Regions from separate parts of the Homo sapiens genome. Here all the other regions are linked to region 1. The links are contacts of gene promoters, found by promoter capture Hi-C in blood cells and fetal thymus (Javierre and others, 2016). All regions are on one chromosome and are shown on one strand. Each heading gives the region's core, a stretch centred on a gene start or on the middle of the fragment in contact. The rest is flanking DNA. Distances are from core to core; before and after follow the strand shown.

Evidence for each region. Contacts are between HindIII fragments. The CHiCAGO score rates a contact against its expected background, and 5 or more counts as called.
Region 2: a fragment that was not itself captured here is called in contact with the fragment with the promoter of ALCAM in region 1 in 2 of 17 cell types (total B cells and naive B cells); the score reaches 6.7 in total B cells.
Region 3: a fragment that was not itself captured here is called in contact with the fragment with the promoter of ALCAM in region 1 in 1 of 17 cell types (monocytes); the score reaches 8.3 in monocytes.
Region 4: a fragment that was not itself captured here is called in contact with the fragment with the promoter of ALCAM in region 1 in 1 of 17 cell types (naive B cells); the score reaches 5.3 in naive B cells.

The regions. Positions count from the first base shown.
Region 1 is chr3:105,364,583-105,368,994 of GRCh38, reverse strand. It overlaps ALCAM (activated leukocyte cell adhesion molecule), which reads right to left and starts at 2,086. Exons shown (of 16, transcript NM_001627.4): 1 at 1,514-2,086. The coding sequence starts at 1,586. RefSeq lists enhancers at 1-65, 402-561 and silencers at 1,592-1,711, 2,042-2,141. The HindIII fragment of the contact is 2,798 bases long and covers 978-3,775 here.
Region 2 is chr3:102,221,791-102,226,261 of GRCh38, reverse strand. No RefSeq gene overlaps it. Among named protein-coding and RNA genes, the nearest start is that of ZPLD1, 210 kb to the left of the region's middle. The HindIII fragment of the contact is 3,795 bases long and covers 3-3,797 here.
Region 3 is chr3:102,027,486-102,032,426 of GRCh38, reverse strand. No RefSeq gene overlaps it. Among named protein-coding and RNA genes, the nearest start is that of RDUR, 89 kb to the right of the region's middle. The HindIII fragment of the contact is 523 bases long and covers 1,777-2,299 here.
Region 4 is chr3:102,241,878-102,246,997 of GRCh38, reverse strand. No RefSeq gene overlaps it. Among named protein-coding and RNA genes, the nearest start is that of ZPLD1, 190 kb to the left of the region's middle. The HindIII fragment of the contact is 2,409 bases long and covers 2,183-4,591 here.

The sequences.
Region 1 (4,412 bases), core at 837-3,336:
AAGGGGGTCTCGCCTTTCCACCTACCTCCCCAGCGTTGTTACACTAGGACACCTGCTTTAAATCCGGTTGAACTATGGTTTCACAGTCCCCGCCCCAGAGCCCGAGATTTGTCAGAGAACGCAGACGCCTTTTTTTTCCCTCAGCCTCAGAAACATCAGGTGAGCTCATTACCTCACCCAGAAATGTAACTTTAATAAAGAGATCTGGAGAGGGCACTCCTCCCGCCCACACACACAGCAACGGCAGCAGCAGCAGCAGCTCGCAAACACTTGTAATCTCTTCCTCAGGCTCTGGCCCCCAAACCCCTCTCCCCGCCAGTTCCTGGGAGAGATTCAGAGGCTTTCAAACCTCTTCTGTGACCTGAGCTTGCCGACAGCTGAAGGGATGTGCACGGATAAAAGGAAGTGAGATTTTTCTTTGATAAAAGCTAAAGAAAAAGCTAAGAACAAACAGGCCAAAATACCAGGAAGTAGGAGTTTAACTGGCAACTGTCTACGCAGGGATAGAAAAAAAAAACTTCAAAGAAAAAAAAATCCCCTAAATTTTCAGTTTAGGGGAGCAAAGGAACCTGCTGCTCTGTCAGGCAACTGTGAGCGCACGGAATACCCTGTTAGAACAACTTGTGTCAGCCGCCAGGCGGGCCTGAGGATACCAGGGCCAGGGGACGTCCCCGAGGGTGTGGAAAGGGATTTCCCGAGAGATATTTTAGTTGTTGGGAATTTTGCCTTTTCTCTCTCTCTCTCTCTCTCTCTCTCTCTCTCTCTCTCTCTTCCAAGACTCAGTACAGAACTGAGAACTGAGGCTCTATGAGCAGGTCCTGGAAATTCACAAACCTCTCACTGAGGTGTCTCCCAGGCCTACCTACTAATTCCTGTTCTGGCTGTGTTATCTGCCTGCGGTCACCCTTTCACTCACCACCCGCCCAGACAATGGACGGGGACCGCAGGGGGTAACGTTGAAACCACGATTTTAAGCTTTAGCAGGTTTCGCAAGGGGGGCGGGGGGAGGTGATTAAAGTCCTCTCCTTCTCTACCCCTCCCATCCCTTCCTCGGCTCACCAAGGGGAAGTTACTAGGGGATTTATCACGAAAAAGTGCCGGCAGTTATTTCATCCGAGAACTAAGCGAAAGAAAAACTGCTCGGGGCGCAGTGACGTGGACTTGGATACCCAGAGACAGGAGGAACTGTCAGAGGGCAAGAGTCCGCCGCCTAGCTGGGAGCCGCAGGGACAAGGGGAGAGCGTCAGGCGAATCCTGCCCACCCCGGAGCACCAAGTTCCTGGAGATTCACCCAGTTTCCCCAGCTTGATGCCCAAACTTGAGCTAACCAGCCAAGCCCAAACGTGCGGCACAGGTGACCGAGCCCGGGGACAGCTCTGTGCCAGGACAGCGGTCCCCTTACCTCCACCACGCGCCTGGGCGCACTGCCTCGGGGGTGCGAGGCTGGGACGGGGACCTAGGAAACTGCTCCAGGCCCACGTCTGTCTGGGGCTGCTCCCAGGCCCTTGCTCACCTGGCCTGAAGACGGTGGCGGAGATCAAGAGGCAGAAGAGCAGACGGCAGGAACTGGCCCCCTTGGATTCCATATTCCTCCTCCTTCTTGGTGGGCCACTGACGGAGTCCACGCCGCAGGAGGGGGCGTCGTCCCGGGCCCCGCGGTGCCCGCGCGCTGGCGGGTCCCGACGCAGGGGCAGCGTCTTCTCCCAGACACACCGTCCCCTGGGCTGTGGCGCTGCACCTTCGGTTCTCTGCCGCACGCAACTTTCCACCACGCAATGCCCCCAACTCCTCCTCCCTCCCGGTCAACACCAGCCCACGGGCCCTTCGGCTGCTCCTCCGGGGACAACGACCCTCTGTTTCCAGGAGACACTTGAGTAATTCGGAAAGGTGTAAGCGGTTCTTTTCGCTGGTATCTTCTTTTATTTTCCTTGTATTGGAATGATAATAATAATGGCAGTGGCAATGTGCATGAAACGCCAGGTGCTAAGAAGGACTCGCAGGAGGCGGCGACGGGGGGGCGGCGGGTCTCCTCAGGTGGCAGCGGTGGTAGCAGCGGCAGCGGCGGCAGCGGTCTCCGGGCTGCTCTGAGTAGAGGGACTGGAAGGCGTGTGTAAGCTGCCTCTTTCCTCCTCTCCCCGCCTCCTCCCTCCCTCCCGTCTCCTCCCCACTTCCCCGGACGCAGCGCAAAGCAGGTGGTTGAAGCGCGGATCCGCAGCCTAGAGGCGCTGCAGGACTGAGTCCGAGCCCTGAGCCCAGCTCCGGGATCAGGGAGAACCGCGTGCCCCGGTCCTGGAGCCCGGATGAGCGGTGCTTCACCGCGGCTCCGCCCCCAGGGCCAGGTCCGCCAATAAGAAGCAAGCACAGGAGCCGCGCGCGCCAGGGAGAGCCCTGGGACTAACACTTTCTGTGATGTTGCAGCGCCCCAGTGATAAGGCCTCTGGCTTCCAACTGCCCACCCACCCTCGCTGAGGTTTAAAAATCGACTGCCCTCTCCCTCCACCCATACGCCCATCCCACTGACTCATTCCTCAGAGATTTTTCTCCGCCGTGCTGCTGCAGCCTTCTGTCCTGTAAAGAGAATAGTGGGGCAGGGCGGTGGCGGTGGGGAGCGAACCTTGGGTCCAAGAGCGGGAGTGAAGGGAAAAGGAAAGGAAAGGGCAGGAGGAAGTGGCAAAGGTGGAAACTTGCTTCTTGGGAGTTAACAGGAATAGCTACTTGTTGGCAGGGGCAACCCCTGTACTGGACTGATTCCTCCTGTACTTTTCGAATCTCTCTCCTCCCCCTGCTCACCCCCACCACTCCCCTCACACCCGGCTGGCATAGACTTGGTTTTAAAGGAAGACTACGTGAGTCGACTGCCCGGTACCAACAGAAGATATTTGCTTTTCCCGGGGGAAATTAAATCCGGAATTTCTAAACCGTACTTCGTCATACGGATTTTCCCAATGTCTACAAAAGCCCTCTAGAGAGCGTGTCACTTTTTTACTTTGAGTTAAGCGGTGATTTTAAGTTATAGACAGAAAATCCTCAAATTATTTCAGATTAAAAGCCAAGTCCGTCTTGGTCCGTTCCCGAAAGCCAGGCACTCCAGCAGATGGACAGGCTTCTTAGGCAATTTCTAAAGATTGAACCACCTCCCAGGAGGAACATCGGGAAGCTGTGTTGCTTTCAAATCAGGCAGAGAGCATGAAGGAAGATTTTCCTCTAGAACACCGGGGTGGAGCTGTCGGAGCCCTAAGTGGCTCTAAATCAGGGATGCAGGATCACAACTCTCATCACCAAAGAATAATAAAATCTTGGTCCCTGAAGCACTTCGCTGGGGCATTAAATAGCCTTTCGTGCATCACAGGGTCACCCTTTTGTGAGACTGGTCTCCAGCAGAGGATGCCAACTAGTAATCGTTACATACTGCACTTTCATCAGAAAACTGCGAGTTACCAGCGAGATTGGAGACTCGCAACACACAGACACACACACACACACACACACTCACACACTGATTTTTAAAATTGTTTATCTTTTAGTGCTCTAAACTATTAAGCCCTATCTTCAGCTGTGATTTTTCTCAAAAGCCTGCTTGTCCTGTTCTTCCAGTTCTCCTTACATTAACAATATTCTAGAGTAGAGCTTTTATACCATATTTTTTTCCTCTCAAAATAAGTAGTTTCTCCCACTTGGTTTAAACATTAACATTTCATTTGCATCTTATGAATCAACAGGAAGGCTATCGCTAGGAGGCAAATGCCTTTTAACTCTATATTCCTTGAGCTAAGCTTGGCTGAAATGCTAGCATTTCCATGGACTCCTGTAGAATTGCTTTAGGGAATTGTTTTCTTTTTCACTGTGGTTGTAAGTGGGGTGTATTAGAATAAATCGACCTGACAATATATTTAACCTAGGTCCGCGAACGCTCTATCTGATCTCCTCTATTTTACGATGGGAGTTAATACAGCATAATTGCTTAAAGGTAGATTTGCAAAAGGAAGACTGATTTGGGCTCTGACACTAACTGTATGATCTTGGTCAACTCACTTAACCTCTTTAAGCTTCAGTCTCCTTTCTTGTAAAAAGTGATAATAGTGCTAGCCTCATGGGATTGCTGTGAAGATCAAATGAGATCAAACACACAAACACACACGTGGAATTCTGGGAGCAACTGACTATACAAATATGTACATATTATACTTATACACAAACACATGCATATATATATGGGCATATGTATAATATATATTTGAATGTGTAGTCCACTGCTTCCAGAATTGTTTTTAGAAAGGAATGTGTCCTAGTTTAGGAAAATGCCTTGATAAGCCACTTGGACTAGTAACTCCAAAGGCTATTGGTCATTAAAAAAAAATGGTGAAACGGCTCTATATTAAACAAAATAATAACCATGAAAATAGAAATTTGGC
Region 2 (4,471 bases), core at 651-3,150, 3.1 Mb after region 1:
CTTATTCTCATCAAGAATCTTACAGACTTGCATATTGACTTTTCTCTGCTAACACACTCATAACAATGTAGAAATCTAAAAACCTGGATTCTGGAGATAGAAGAAGAATGGTTACCATAGGCTGGGAAGGAGTGTAGGAAGGTATGGGGGAGATGGGGATGATTTAATGAGTATAAAAAATAGAAAGAATGAATAATACCTAGTATTTGATAGCATAACAGAGTGACTATAGTCATTAATAATTTAATTGTACATCTTAAAGTAACTAAAAGAGTATAACTAGATTGTTTGTGATACAAAGGATAAAATACTTGACTCATTTTACATGATGTCATTATTACTCATTGCATGCCTGTATCAAAACATCTTATGTATCCCATAAATGTATACACCTACCACAAAAATTACAATTAAATTTTTTTAGAAACTTGGATTCTGTCATCATTGACTTTTCTATCAATTAGCTATTCAATTTTTATCATCACCCATCAATATCTCCAGGCCTCAGTCTCCTCATCTGTAAAATAGGGGAGTGGGCAGAAGCCTGCCAAGCAGATCATCTCTAAGGTTCCTTCCAGCTGTAAGATGGGATGATAGCAGAATTCTCACAGCAAAATTCCTAAGTGGATTTCAAATGTGCTTGTTAATGCAAAGTGCCACTAGAGGTCAGATTAAGTTTGGTAATTCTATCTGATCAGACATGGAGCTGGAGCAAAAGCAAAAGCTATCCTTAGGTTGATACCTTGCTTAGCAGGCCTGCACCTTCCCCCTTCTGAGCTGATGAATGTTGATCCCAGTGTTAGAATAAAATAGGAAAATCTCTGAAACCCGAAATTACATTCATTAATCTGTAATTTGTAATTGGCTGCTACCAGAATGCTTATCTTTCTTTGCTTGCCTGAATGTCGTTAATTAAATGTGTCACCTGAAGCTCTGGTACTTCGTGTTTGCTCATGTTACTGTGTTAATCAATCAGTCGCACAAAATTGGAAGCTGCTGAGAGAGACTGAAAACGTTACCTGCAAACTCTTTGTGCATCTGGGTGTAACTGTATTAAGAACATGTGATTATGTGCGGGGCATCTGACTCACAATACATATTCAAAGCGAAGTATAAAGGAATTAATGAAAAACAGAAAGAAGGAGAGGGGGCACACATTGTCCTCAGGTACGTGCCTTGTCAAAGCTACTGATCAGGACCAGTGTTAGGCACAACTGTGAAACCTGTAGAATTAGATATTTGTAGCTGCCGTTTTCTGTGTAGTTTCCCACCTTCCTTCAGCTCCCCGGCTTTCTCAGCATCCATTTCAAACTCTGCTCTCAAGAGACATCCAAATAATTCAAATGCAGTAAGATATAAAAAACTAATGATGTGATTTTGCTCTCACTTGCATTTTGTCTGAGAACAATGCCTATTAAAGGGTGGAATTCTAGAAGCAGAATTGTAATCATCTGGAAAGCTACTAATGTGGGAACAGAACATTTGCAAAATCATCCCACAGAGCCGACACCATAGGCCAACGGCAAAGGTTAGCCTTGCCTCCCACTAATACACACAGTACGAATTGCTAGTTATTCCCTTTTTTAAAAAACAAGTATTTATTGAGCATTCATTGTACATGAGGTTCCCAAATGCATAGGGTTGCTTCATGAGGACCCAGTGATTTCTCCCTGCATGACATACTAGGAAGCAGTGGAAGCCTCGGCATTATTTCTGTGGCAAGGCCCTGGGGAACAGGGATCCTCCTCCCCTTCCACTATCTCCCCTATATAAAATTAAATGTTTGTGGTAGCGGGCAGGAGTGAGCAATTCTGAGAGCGGTACCAAAAGGATGGATGTTCTGGCCTGACCACCCAGCAGGTGGCCTCAGATTATCCAGATAGTTCTGTGGTATGAGAACAAGGCAATATCTCCTAGTGGCTGTCACTCAAGAAGACCAGATGCCAATCTCAAAACCTCAGGGACCTCTTAATTTCTAAGGTGCTGATGCACTAATATTTGGGTTCACAGACCTGACAATTCTGCCTCCAGCTTCTTCTATATGAGATCACCCATCATGGCTATAGCCTATGTCTATCTTAAAACAGCTGCCACAAATCCTCAATTCCCTTTGATAAGTATATTCTCAGTAAACAGAAATAACACTTTGTATTTACCTAGTACTTGGTACTTTACCGAGTGATACAGAAAATCCTTTCATCTACTCTGTAAAGTTAAATACTATCATCCTATACATTGGCTCATATTTCATACATTTTTAGAGTTGGTAGATCATCTGCTCCACCCTCACCTCCACACTTAACCATCTTGCATTGTCCGATGCAATGTCTGACACTTCCCAAGCAAACCCCTTCCTTTCACAGCACTCAACACCGCCTTTCACAAGCACAACTATTTTATAGATGATGAAACTGAAATCCAAATACATTAGGTGACTCTCCCTAAAGCAGAACATATACAAGTGGAGGATCACAGTCTCAGACTAGTTAAGCAGTTTTCAATTTTCATCGCATTAAACCTCTCATCAGCATTCAACACCTTACTGCTTTCTTGAGCCATGTCTCTGAGTTTCAGTAGCACTACACCCTCATTTTTCCATGATCCCTTCTTCTCATTCTCCTCAGGAACATTAGGTTGGTCAGGCTTAGTCCTGAGCAACTCTTCTTTTCTTACTCTGTGGTCTCTCTTTCATTTGTCTCCTTTATTCTCCAAGTTTTAAATATTATCTATGGAAAACGGCTGAATAGGAACAGCTCTGGTCTGCAGATACCAGCGGGACCAACGCAGAAACTGGGTGATTTCTGCATTTCCAACTGAGGCACCCGGTTTATCTCATTGGGACTGGTTAGACAGTGGGTACAGCACACGGAGGTTGAGCAAAAGCAGGGTGGGGCGTTGCCCCACCCAGGAAGTGCAAGGGGCCCGGGGCCTCCCTCCCCAGCCAAGGGAAGCTGTGAGGGACTGTGCTAACCGGCCCAGATACTACACTTTTCCCACGGTTTTTGCAACCAACAGACCAGGAGATTCCCTCGGGTGACTACACCACCAGGGCCCTGGGTTTCAAGCACAAAAGTGGGCAGCTGTTCAGGCAGACACCAAGCTAGCTGCAGGAGTCTTTTTTTTGTACCCCAGTGTTGCCTGGAACTCCAGCGAGACAGAACCGTTCACCCCTTTGGAAAGGGGGCTGAAGCCAGGGAGCAAAGTGGTCTTGCTCGGTAGGTCCCACTCCCATGGAGCCCAGCAAGCTAAGAATCACTGGCTTGAAATTCTCACTGCCAGCACAGCAGTGTGAAGTTGACCTGGGGTGATCCAGCTTGGTCAGGGGCGAGGCATTCACCATTACTGAGGCTTGAGTAGGTGGTTTTCCCCTCACAGTGTTAAGGAAGCCAGGAAGTTCGGACTGGGGGGAGCTCACCTCAGCACAACAAAGTGGCTTGGGCCAGACTGCCTCTCTAGATGCCTCCTCACTGGGCAGAGCATCGCTGAAAGAAAGGCAGCAGCCCCAGTCAGGGGCTTATAGACAAAACTCCCATCTCCCTGGGACAGAGCACCTGGGGGAAGGGTGGCTGTGGGCGCAGCTTCAGCAGACTTAAATGTTCCTACTTGCCATCTCTGAAGACAGCAGCAGATCTCCCAGCACAGCCCTCAAGCTCTGCTAAGGGATAGACTGCCTCCTCAAGTGGGTTACTGACCCCTATGCTTCCTGACTGGGAGACACCTTCCAGCAGGAGTGGACAGACACCTCATACAGGAGAGCTCTGGCTGGCATCAGGCAGGTCCTCCTCTGTGATGAAGCTTCCAGAGGAAGGAGCAGGCAGCAATCTTTGCAGTTTTGCAGCCTCTGCTGGTGATACCCAGGCAAACAGAGTCTGGAGTGGACCTCCAGCAAACTCCAGCAGACCTGCAAAAGAGGGGCCTGATTGTTAAAGGAAAAACTAACAAAGAGAAAGCAATAACATTGACATCAACAAAAAAGATGCCCACACAAAAACCTCATCAAAAGGTCATCAGCATCAAAGATTAAAGGTAGATAAATCCACAAAGATGACGAAAAAACAGAACAAAAATGCTGAAGATTCCAAAAATCAGAATGCCTCTTCTCCTCCAAATGATAACAACTCTTCTCCAGCAAGGGCACAAAGCTGGATGGAGAATTAGTTTGACAAATTGACAGAAGTAGGCTTCAGTAGGTGGGTAATAGCAAACTCCTCTGAGCTAAAAGAGCATGTTCTAACCCAAAGCAAGGAAGCGAAGAACCTTGATAAAAGGTTACGGAAACTGCTAACTAGAATCACAAGTTTAGAGAGGAATATAAACGACCTGATGGAGCTGAAAAACACAGCACAAGAACTTGTGAAGCACACACAAGTAGCAGTAGCCGAATCAATCAAATGGAAGAAAGGATATCAGAGATTGAAGATCAACTTACTGCAATAAGGCATGAAGACAAGATTAGAGAAGAAAGAATAAA
Region 3 (4,941 bases), core at 789-3,288, 3.3 Mb after region 1:
CTCATGGCTTCAGTTCTCACTTCATTAAATACTGCCCATATCTATTACCTGAATCTTGAGCTTCAGATCCGCATTTCCACCCATAACCTGGATATTTCCACAAAGATGTTCAGTAAGCACTTCACATTTAACATGTTCGAAATGGAATTTAGCATCTGCTTATGTATTCTTCCATGTCCTCCTTCTTTCTCTCAACTTTATATTTTGGAGATTTATTCATGTTGATGCATGTAGCTGTAATTCATGTATTTTTGCTGCTCTGTAGTATTTCCTTATATGAATATACTTCAATCGACTTATCCATGTATGGGTTTTTGTAATTTTTTATGTCTGAGTACACACATGCAAGAAGAGTTTCCAGTGAAATTGCTATATCAAAGAGCACACACAAGTTCAGTTTTACCAGGCATACCAAACTGTTTTCAAAGTGACTGTGTCAGTTCATACTCCCACTTGCAGTATATTAAAGTTGTTTTTACTCCATATCCTCACCAACACTTGAGTAAAATCTTTGTCAACTTCGTCATGTCTCATTATGATTTTGATCCACATTCCCTTGATTATTAAGGAGAATGAGCATCTTTCATATGTTAATTATATATAAAAAGTGTCTTCTTCATGTAGTGCCTTTATAATGAGAAAACATTTTTTTAATTAAGATCTATACCACAGATTAAGATCTATGTTGTGATGGGCAAGTTTTTCAGTCAATCCTGAAGAACACTAAAGATTTACAGTCCTACCCTCACTGAGATGGTAAACTTGACCAGTTACAAACAATTATACTTTGGGATTTTATTGATTAAGTAATATGCTCTCAAAGTGATAATGTTGTGTGATAAAACTAGCTGTGGAGGAGAAACCAAGTGTGGCTGTTAAACCTTTCTATGGCCTATCATGCAACCAGCATGGAGTTACTTAGTGCCATGTGAGAGACAAATTTCAGAGTAGGCACAATGTGGAAGAAATAATTTTCATTCCACACAGCAGTACCCAACTCCTACCCCCAGCAAGAACGAAAACTAGAGAAGAAGATACAAATATCTATTGGCTGATGAAGAGTCTACTCCACTCAGGAAAGAACATGTGGAAACCATGAGAAATGAAAGTACCCCGCCAAACCCAGCCAAATCCAACCTCACCTCTCCTAGACACTTCCCCCTACAGTTTCTGGAGTTTCCCAGGTATGTTCTTTGCATAAGTCACTGTTTCATGTCTATCATTACCTAAATATTTTACATCAGGGAAGAATAAGTGTCTTGAGGCAAGGAATCTCCAAAATTGTTTTGAGGTTAATTAACTGCATAGCACATGTGGCCATGAATTTCAGGTTCCTGGATTAGAAAGACAGAGATGACTATTAATTCTGTTCAATCTGACCGATATTTGCTAAGCAGCTACTGTGTCCAAGAAGAATATGATAGAACCCTTGCCACTCAGTAAGCAAACTTTATATACCAAGAACAAGAAAGAATTTCACAGCTCCTACCCTAAAATAGAAAGAGTATTATCAAGCCACACTCTTATTGCAACATATTTTTGTGCAATATATTTAATAAAATTCTAAATTTGATATCTGTTCCTCATTTTTTTCCCATATCTACTGTGAGGAAATTCGACTTGACATTTCTTTCAAAAGACTATTGGTAATTCACAATTACTGCTCTAGCACTTCCCCCTCTGAACTAAAAAATAATAACAGCTGGACTTTATTTAATGCTTACTCTGTGTCAGGAATTTTAGCAAGTGTTATATGCATAATAGCTCATTTAAGCTTCATAACAACCTTTGTTGTAAAGGTATGTATGCTTTGTCATTGTTTTTGTTTTAGGTATAATTCACATAAAATAAATTCACATATTTTAAGTATACAATTTGATAAGTTTTGATGATGTATATTCCTATAAAACCATCACACAATCAAGACAATGAGCATATCCATCACCCCCAAAATGTTTCCTCATGATCTTCTGTAATCCTTCCCTTCCACTCTTTCCTGTTCTCTCACCCTTCCCCATTTCTAAGCAAATACTGATCTGTCACTGCAGTTTACATTTTCCAGAATTTTTAAAAGTGGAATTATACTGTACTCTTTTCTCCAGCTTCTTTAAACAGTGTAATAATTCTGAGTAATCCACGTTGTTGTGTCTATCAATAATTCATTCTTTTTATTGCTTGGTAATATCCCATTGTATGAATATATCATGATTTCTTTAACCACTCACCTGTGACATTTGGCTAGTTTCCAGGTTTTGGCAGTTACACCAATGAAGCTGCTGCAAACATTCACATATAAGCTTTGAATAGGCATATGCTTTCATTTTTCTAACCTAAATATCTGGGAGTAGAGGCACTAGGATACTTGTAGATGTATATTGAACAGTTTAAGAATCTGCCAGTCCTAATATTGCTGTGACAAATTGCCACAAACTGAGCAGCTTTAAACAACACCAATTTGTCTCTTACAGCTCTAGAGGTCAAAAGTCTAAAATCAAGATGTCACCCAGGCTATGTTCTTTCTGGAGGCTTCAGGGGCAAATTCTTTTGCTTTCCTTAACTTCCAACCTGCCTGCATTCCTTAGATCATGGCCCATTCCTCAGGACATTCTAACCTCATACTTCTGTGTTCACATCTCCAGCTACTGGCTCTGATTCTCCTATCTCCCTCTTCTAAGGACCCTTGTGATTGCATTGATGTCACCTGAGTAATTCACGATAATCTCTTTAATTTTCAAAATTTTTCATGTAATCACATCTGCAAATTTCCTTTTACCACATAACAGATTCACAGACTCCAGGGATTAGGATATAAGCCTCTTTGAGGGCCACTATTCAGCTTAGCCCACACTGTCTTCCATAGAGGTTACATCATTTTACATACCCATCAGCAGCATAAGAGAGTTATAGTTCCTCCATATCCTCACCAACATTTGTTATGGTCAGTTACTTTAATTTGCATTTCTCAATAACAAATGATGTTGAACATCTTTTCATATACTTATTTGCTCTCTATAGATCTTCTTAGGTGAAGTGTCATTTGAAATCTTCTTTCCAATTTTCATTGGGTGTTTTTTGATTGTTGGATTTTTAGAGATCTTTAACTATTCTTGATACAAGTCTGTTATCAGCTATGACTTGCAAATATTTTCTGCCAGGCTGTGGCTTGTTTATTTGTTCTCTTACCAGTGTCTTTCAAGAAAGGCTTATAATTTTGATTGTCTGATATATAAATGTATTTTTATAGATTGAGCTTTGAGTGCCATATCTTAAAAATCTCTGCCTAATCTAGGTTTAAAAAGATTTTCTCTATGTTTTTCTAAAAGTTTTATAATTTCAGTTCTTTCATTTAGATCTATAGCCCATTTTGAATCAAGTTTTACATATAGTGTAAGATATAAATCAAAGCTCTTGTTTTGCTTATGAATATCCAACTGTTCCACCACCATTTGTTGAGAAGTCCATCCTTTCTCCACTGAATTGCTTTGGCATCTTTTAAAAAAAAAAATCAGTTATCTCTAAATATGTCTAATTTTGGACTCTTTATTATATTCATCCATTTGTCCATTTGTCCATTCATTTGTCCATACCAATATCACACTGTCTTAGTTAATGTCATTTATAATGTCTATATGTAATTTATAAAGCTGTCTTGGTTATTTTAGATCTTTTGCATTTTCTATTTGAATTTTAAAATTAGCTGGCAATTCACATATAAAAGCCTGTGAGAATTTTTATTGGGATTGCATTAAATCTTTAGATCAATTTGGGGAGAAATGACCTTATAGCAACATTGATTCTTCTGACATATGAACATTGTATATCTCTCCATTGTTGAGTTTTTCCCAGTAATATTTTTTAGATTTCAGTAAACAGATCTTGCTCACCTTTTATCAAATACAGCGGTATTTTCATACTTTTGAAGCTATTTTAAATGATTTTTTTCAATTTCTCATGTTCATTGTTAGTATGTACAAATACAACTGATGTTTGCATACTAATGTATCCTGCCATCTGGCTAACTCAGTTCTTATAGCTTTTTGTAGATTCCATTGGATTCTCTGCATGGAAGATTATATTGTCTATGAATAAAGATGGTTTCCTTTCTTCCTTTCCAAACTGAATGTTTTTAATTTCTTTGCTTAGTGCTTTAAATTTTTTATAATTTCTGATTTATCAGCATCCCACCGATTTCATATGTTGTAATTTCATTTTCATTCAGTTCATAGTACTTTCTTATTTCCCTTTTGAGCTCTCTTTTTTTACATTTTTTCCTACTGACTCATCAAGCTTGATCCCTTTTGATCGTTTCTTTGACCCAATGGGCAATTTAGAAGTGTCTTATTTAGTTTCCAAATATTTGAGGATTTGCCAGAAAATCATTCTGTTATTGATTTCTAATTTAATTTCATTGTAGCCAGAGAACAGACTTTGTAAAACTTTAATTCTTTTTAAATTTATTGAGATACGTTTTGTGGCCCAGAATATGATCTTTGTAAATATTCTATATACACTTGAAAGTAAATATCTATGCTGCTTTTTCGGGTGAAGTTCTGTATAAATACTTCTTAATATGAATTAAGTCATTTGATTGTTTTGTCCAAGTTTCTTATATTTTTACTGATTTTCTGTCTCTTTGTTCTATCAATTGTGGAGAGAATGATCCTGAAATATCTGATTATAACTGTGGATATGTCTATTTGTTCTTGCAGTTCTATCGGTTTTTGATTCCAGTATTTTGATGCTCTGTTATTGAGCGTATGAACATTCAGGAATGTTCTTTTCTTCTGGTAAATTGACATCATTATCAGTATAAAGTACCTTACTTTATCTCAGGATAAAATCTGAAATCTACTTTGTCTATTATTAATATAGCCACCCTAGCTTCCTTTTGACTATTGTCAATATATTTTTTTCTATCCTTTTAGTTTTGACCTTCTTGTG
Region 4 (5,120 bases), core at 2,138-4,637, 3.1 Mb after region 1:
TCACTGGTAAAGGAATGTTGTGGGGCCAAGGTAGGTATTTGGGATTTGTGGAGGTCAGCACATTGGAATTGAGGGCTGTCTACCTGCACACATCTTCATGAGTGGTCCAGATGTACAACATGTGGCAGAGGTCCAGTAACTTACCCAAGGTCATACAAGCATCAGAAAATAATAATAACAATTAATAATAATAAACTCTCCTCTCATAGGCTTCATTCATGTATTTAAAAGTGTTACTTGATAAAACATTTTGTCAGGGAAAAGAAAAACAAATTATTCTTTGCTATTAAAAATATGGAGAGCATTTGTGCATTATAAGATATTCATTGTCGTTTAACCACTTTTCCCTAACAACATCCTTGAAGGGAGAACCAGTAGTTTCGATGAAGCAACTGAGACACAGGTTTACATTTTGATGAACAAAACAGGACTAGAAAGTATGATCAATCTGATGAAAAAAATTAAAGCCATATAAAGAGAAGCCTACATGAATTTGAATGAATATTGGGGTTTTTTCTGATTTTAAAAGTTTGCTGTTTTTGTAAAAGTGTCACTAACTTAAATCCAAACCAAAGATGTGATGAATTCTAATGAGTTGAGAAGATATTGTATAAGTCATAGAGCAATATTCTCCAACTCAAAATCCTCTTTAATTATACAGAAGATGAAGCACTTTTTCTTTCTCTATTTTTTCATTTGAATACAAATAAAATTCTCATGGATTATTCTACTGTTTCCCCATCATGTTTATGTTCATTTGTCACTTTAATGATTAGAATTACACTAATTCTGTTTTTGTTGTTGCTGTTGTTGTTGTTTGAGATGGAGTTTCACTCTTGTTGCCCAGGCTGGAGTGCAATGGCACGATCTTGGCTCACCACAAACTCCGCCTCCTGGGTTCTAGCAATTCTCCTGCCTCAGCCTCCCGAGTAGCTGGGATTACAGGCATGTGCCACTACGCCAGGCTAATTTTGTATTTTTAGTAGAGACGAGATTTCTCCATGTTGGTCAGGCTGGTCTTGAACCCCCGACCTCAGGTGATTCACCCGCCTCAGCCTCCCAAAGTGCTGGGATTACAGGCGTAAGCCACCGTGCCCGGCCTTTTTTTTCTTTTTTCCTAATTTGATTTTGAATTAATGACTAGTATGCCTATGAAAGAAGGAAGTTCAAAATACAAATAACGTATTCTTGTTGGCTGTAGCTTTTAAGTGGACAGTACTTAATATAAGAATATTATTTTTATAGTCACTCAAATACTACTTTTTACATAAACAGGCACAAAAATATTAGCAAATTATTATATACATATTCTGGTTGAAAAGCAGAAAAATGTCAATGGCAATAAGTGAAACAACCTATTGAAAATACTTCCACTAGAAGAAGTAAAATAGTCATTGATCAGACAGTTAACTGAAAATACATAAAACATGGTCAACAGATAGAGAAGAAAAAAAAATCTTGCTCGGTCAGGAATGGATGCAATAGGTCTCCTTTCCTTAATAGATCTCTTTTAAGGTCAGGGGTACAAGTGTAGGTTTGTTACACAGGTGGAATTGTGTCATGGGAGTTTGTTGTACAGATTGTTTCATCACCCCCAGGTATTAAGCCTAGTACCCATTAGTTATTTACAACACACACTGGGGCCTTTTGGAGGGTGGAAGTTCGGAGGAGGGAGAGGAACAGGAAAAAAAGATCTTTTCTCTTATGAGACTTCAAGATTCTTTCTCCTTTCCTTGTACCTTGAGAAAAAAAAATGAGCTTTTGTTATCAGTGGCTCTGTAATGTAATTGCTGGTCATTAAAATAATTTGACTCAAAACTAACACCAGGCAATCAGCCTTGAGGTTTTGTGTGTTTAGTGAGGAGCAGGACTTAGAGGCCTATGCAGGGATGGGAGACGAGGGTACTCCAGAAATCTGGTACTCCAGAAACAAGGAGAGCCTCACATAATCTCAACACTTTTCTAATTATCATTTAGAAAGCAGCAATCCAATTGCCCCACAACTGCTGAGGAGAAAAAAGAATAAGCAGCTCTCCCTGCCTTATTCCCTACTAGAAACCAATCTACACTCCTGCAAAAGTAAGCTTCCTAAACCTGTCCAAAGCTGTTCACTTTGGACAGACTACGTCTGCTCAAAAGTCACCTGTGGTTCCCTGTTGCCAGCATAATAAAATTCTAAGCTTTGATGTAAATATCTGCTCTGACTTAATTCTACTCCGTAAATATTTGTCACATTTCCTCTTTTGTATATTAGCCACTCCTTGAGCAACCTCCATGCCTTTGCTTGATGCATTCCACCTGCCTAAGATGGTGCCTTGTTGTCTGCTACATGTCCTTCATGACCCAGCTCAAGTCATCACTTCTCCACAAAGTCTTCCCAATTGTCCACTTCATAGTCATCTCAATTGTCCATTTCATAGCCATCTCACTTCTCTCTAGGTATTTATCTTTGCCATGCACTGGCCACTCAGCATATTCCATCCTGTTATACCCTTTATATCCTGAGATTATAACTACAGTATACCTTTATTGAATGCAAGGACTATATATCTGACAATATTTCTCTTGCATTCATCATAATGCCTGATATGGAGTAACAATAGCACTGTATATATCACTAAATATATATATCATTATATATCACTATATATATCACTATATATATATATATATATAGAGAGAGAGAGAGAGAGAGAGAAACACTTTGGAATATACAAAGCACTTGCGACTTCCAAGGTAGCCATACTCCCAGCAACATAAACACTGGACCCCACCATCCCAGCCTTGCCCCAGGAGGCTCCCACACCTATTCTCACTATTAACTCTTTGCTTTCAGCTTATAGATGAGGACACTGAGACTCAGAAGATTCAGTTTCCCTGTAGTAAGTCAAAACCTGATTCTTCTACTTAACCACACTGCCGCTATTATGAGCATTCAAAATATTTTTGTGGACGTATGCCATGACTATCAGCACCACCACCAACTCCAGGAAGTTAGTAGAAGAGCAAAGATGTGTATGTGTGTGTGTATTGTGTTGTGGCAATGACCGAGTGTGGTAGATAAACAGTGTAGCAGTAGCAAATATACAAAATCAAGAAAAACAAACAAACAAATAATAGTTGTGATATTTAAGAGCTTCCAAGTTTTAAGCCTGTCACTAATTAGCTGTATGCTCTTGGGCAAGTCATCTGCAACAGATTTCTACCTGGTGCCCCAACTCAGGCAAAGATGATATAACCTCAATCCCCTTGTCCTTGGTCCCACCCAAAACAAAAGAATTTACAGGCCTGTACCACACCTCAGACCATAACCAATACCTAACCAAGGAATATAAGGATGATGATTATTTAAAATGCCAGTAGACATTAATTGAAGTTGAAGCTAAAGCACCAAGGAATATTACCTCCTTTAGGATTATTTAGAAAAACAGATAATTATGGGTCTGAGATGCTTAAGATATATGTGGTTCTGTTTAAGGTAGGAGTGTGAACTTAGTGCACTGTTACTATCTTCCATAAATCCCTATTGTAGAGTTTATAGGTGAAAACAATATGAAACTCTAATCTTGGAAACTGGATTAGTAAGAATTAGCTGTGTAACCATGTGGGAAAATTCACTTAATCTTTCCACACTCAATAACTCTACCTGTGAAATGAGGAAAGTGGTTAGGTCAAAGAATTTTTGAAATCATTTACATGTGTTAAAATCTTCACCTAAATATTATTGATAAATTTAAAATAGATCCTTCAAATACATTTTTTTAAAGCTGAGTTTTGACTGATCTTTATAGATAATTTTTTAAGTAGTGTAGGAATGTTAAGCAGTATATTCAAAAGCCTGCATGTAATTATAATAACTGCTAAGCATAATTAATCTTATTCATTCCATGCCCAGCTATTTACCTAAATCTTTACTGTAACTTTTAGCTAGGTGGGATCTCTCTGTGACTCTGTGACTCTATTTGAAAGAAAACAGAATCCCAACAAGGCTTCCAGAAGACTTCTTTTAGAGCTCTGCTGTGAGGATTAATGAAGCAAAGTCTCCTGCTATGAACTTCAATTCCAAGAGAATCAATGGCCCCAGGAAGGGTTGGAAGGAATTCCAGCAGAAGTCAGAATAATACATTCTCTTCCCATCTTTTTCACTAACCATTGAATCAAGAGTAATGAGTTTCGGCTTGCTCGTCGTCATTAGTTCCAGCTGTAAAATGGAGGTAAACATACAGTCAAGAACTCTTTCCCCCATAAGCCTGAGCAGGGCAGCTCCTACTGCCATCTATTCCGTAATTCCCAAATTGCTGGCATTTGTTTTCTATTGCCGAATCCAAATTACCACAATCTCAGTAGCTTAAAACAAAACATTTATTATCTCACAGTTTCCTTAGGTCAAGGCATGGCTTAACTGGGTCCCCTGCTCAGGGTTTTACAAAGCTGCTGGGCTGCATTTTCATCTGGAAGCTCAAATGAGTAAAAATCTGCACCCAAATTCATTGAAGTTGTTGATAGAAATTGCTTCCTTGTAGCTATAATACGTAGGGCCCTGGCTTTTTGCTGGCTATTGATTGGAGGTCACCTCCAGGTCCCGGAAGCTTCCCATTATTCCTAAAGGCTCCCTGCAGTGTTGGCTTCTCCAACATGACTGCTTACTTCATCAGGCCCACAAGGAGTCTCCAGTTCCAGAACTCATATAATCTATAGCAGTCACAGAAATGACATCCATCACCTTTGCTATGTAAATACCTAAGCATGAAAGTGCCATCTCATTGTCTCATGTTATTGCCTAGAAGCAACTAATAGTTCCTGCCCAAAGCCAAAGGGAGAGTATTACACACAGCTGTGAACACTAGGAAGTGGATTGATTGTGTGTCACCTGAGGGTCAGCCTGCCAAGCTGCCCTTAACACCAAAATCAACCATCAGGCCCTATGGCTGAAACACTCCACTCTTACCAAGAAATTTCTCCCTCAGCATCCTCCAATTCCTCTTCAATCACCATTGCTTTCAAAGTCATTCTGACTGCCTATAGCCAAGCCACACTCCCTACAGACCCTGTCCATTCATTCTGCAAAGCTTATTGATCTCTTGATATGAGCCAGGCCCTATGCTAGTATAGAATACAGA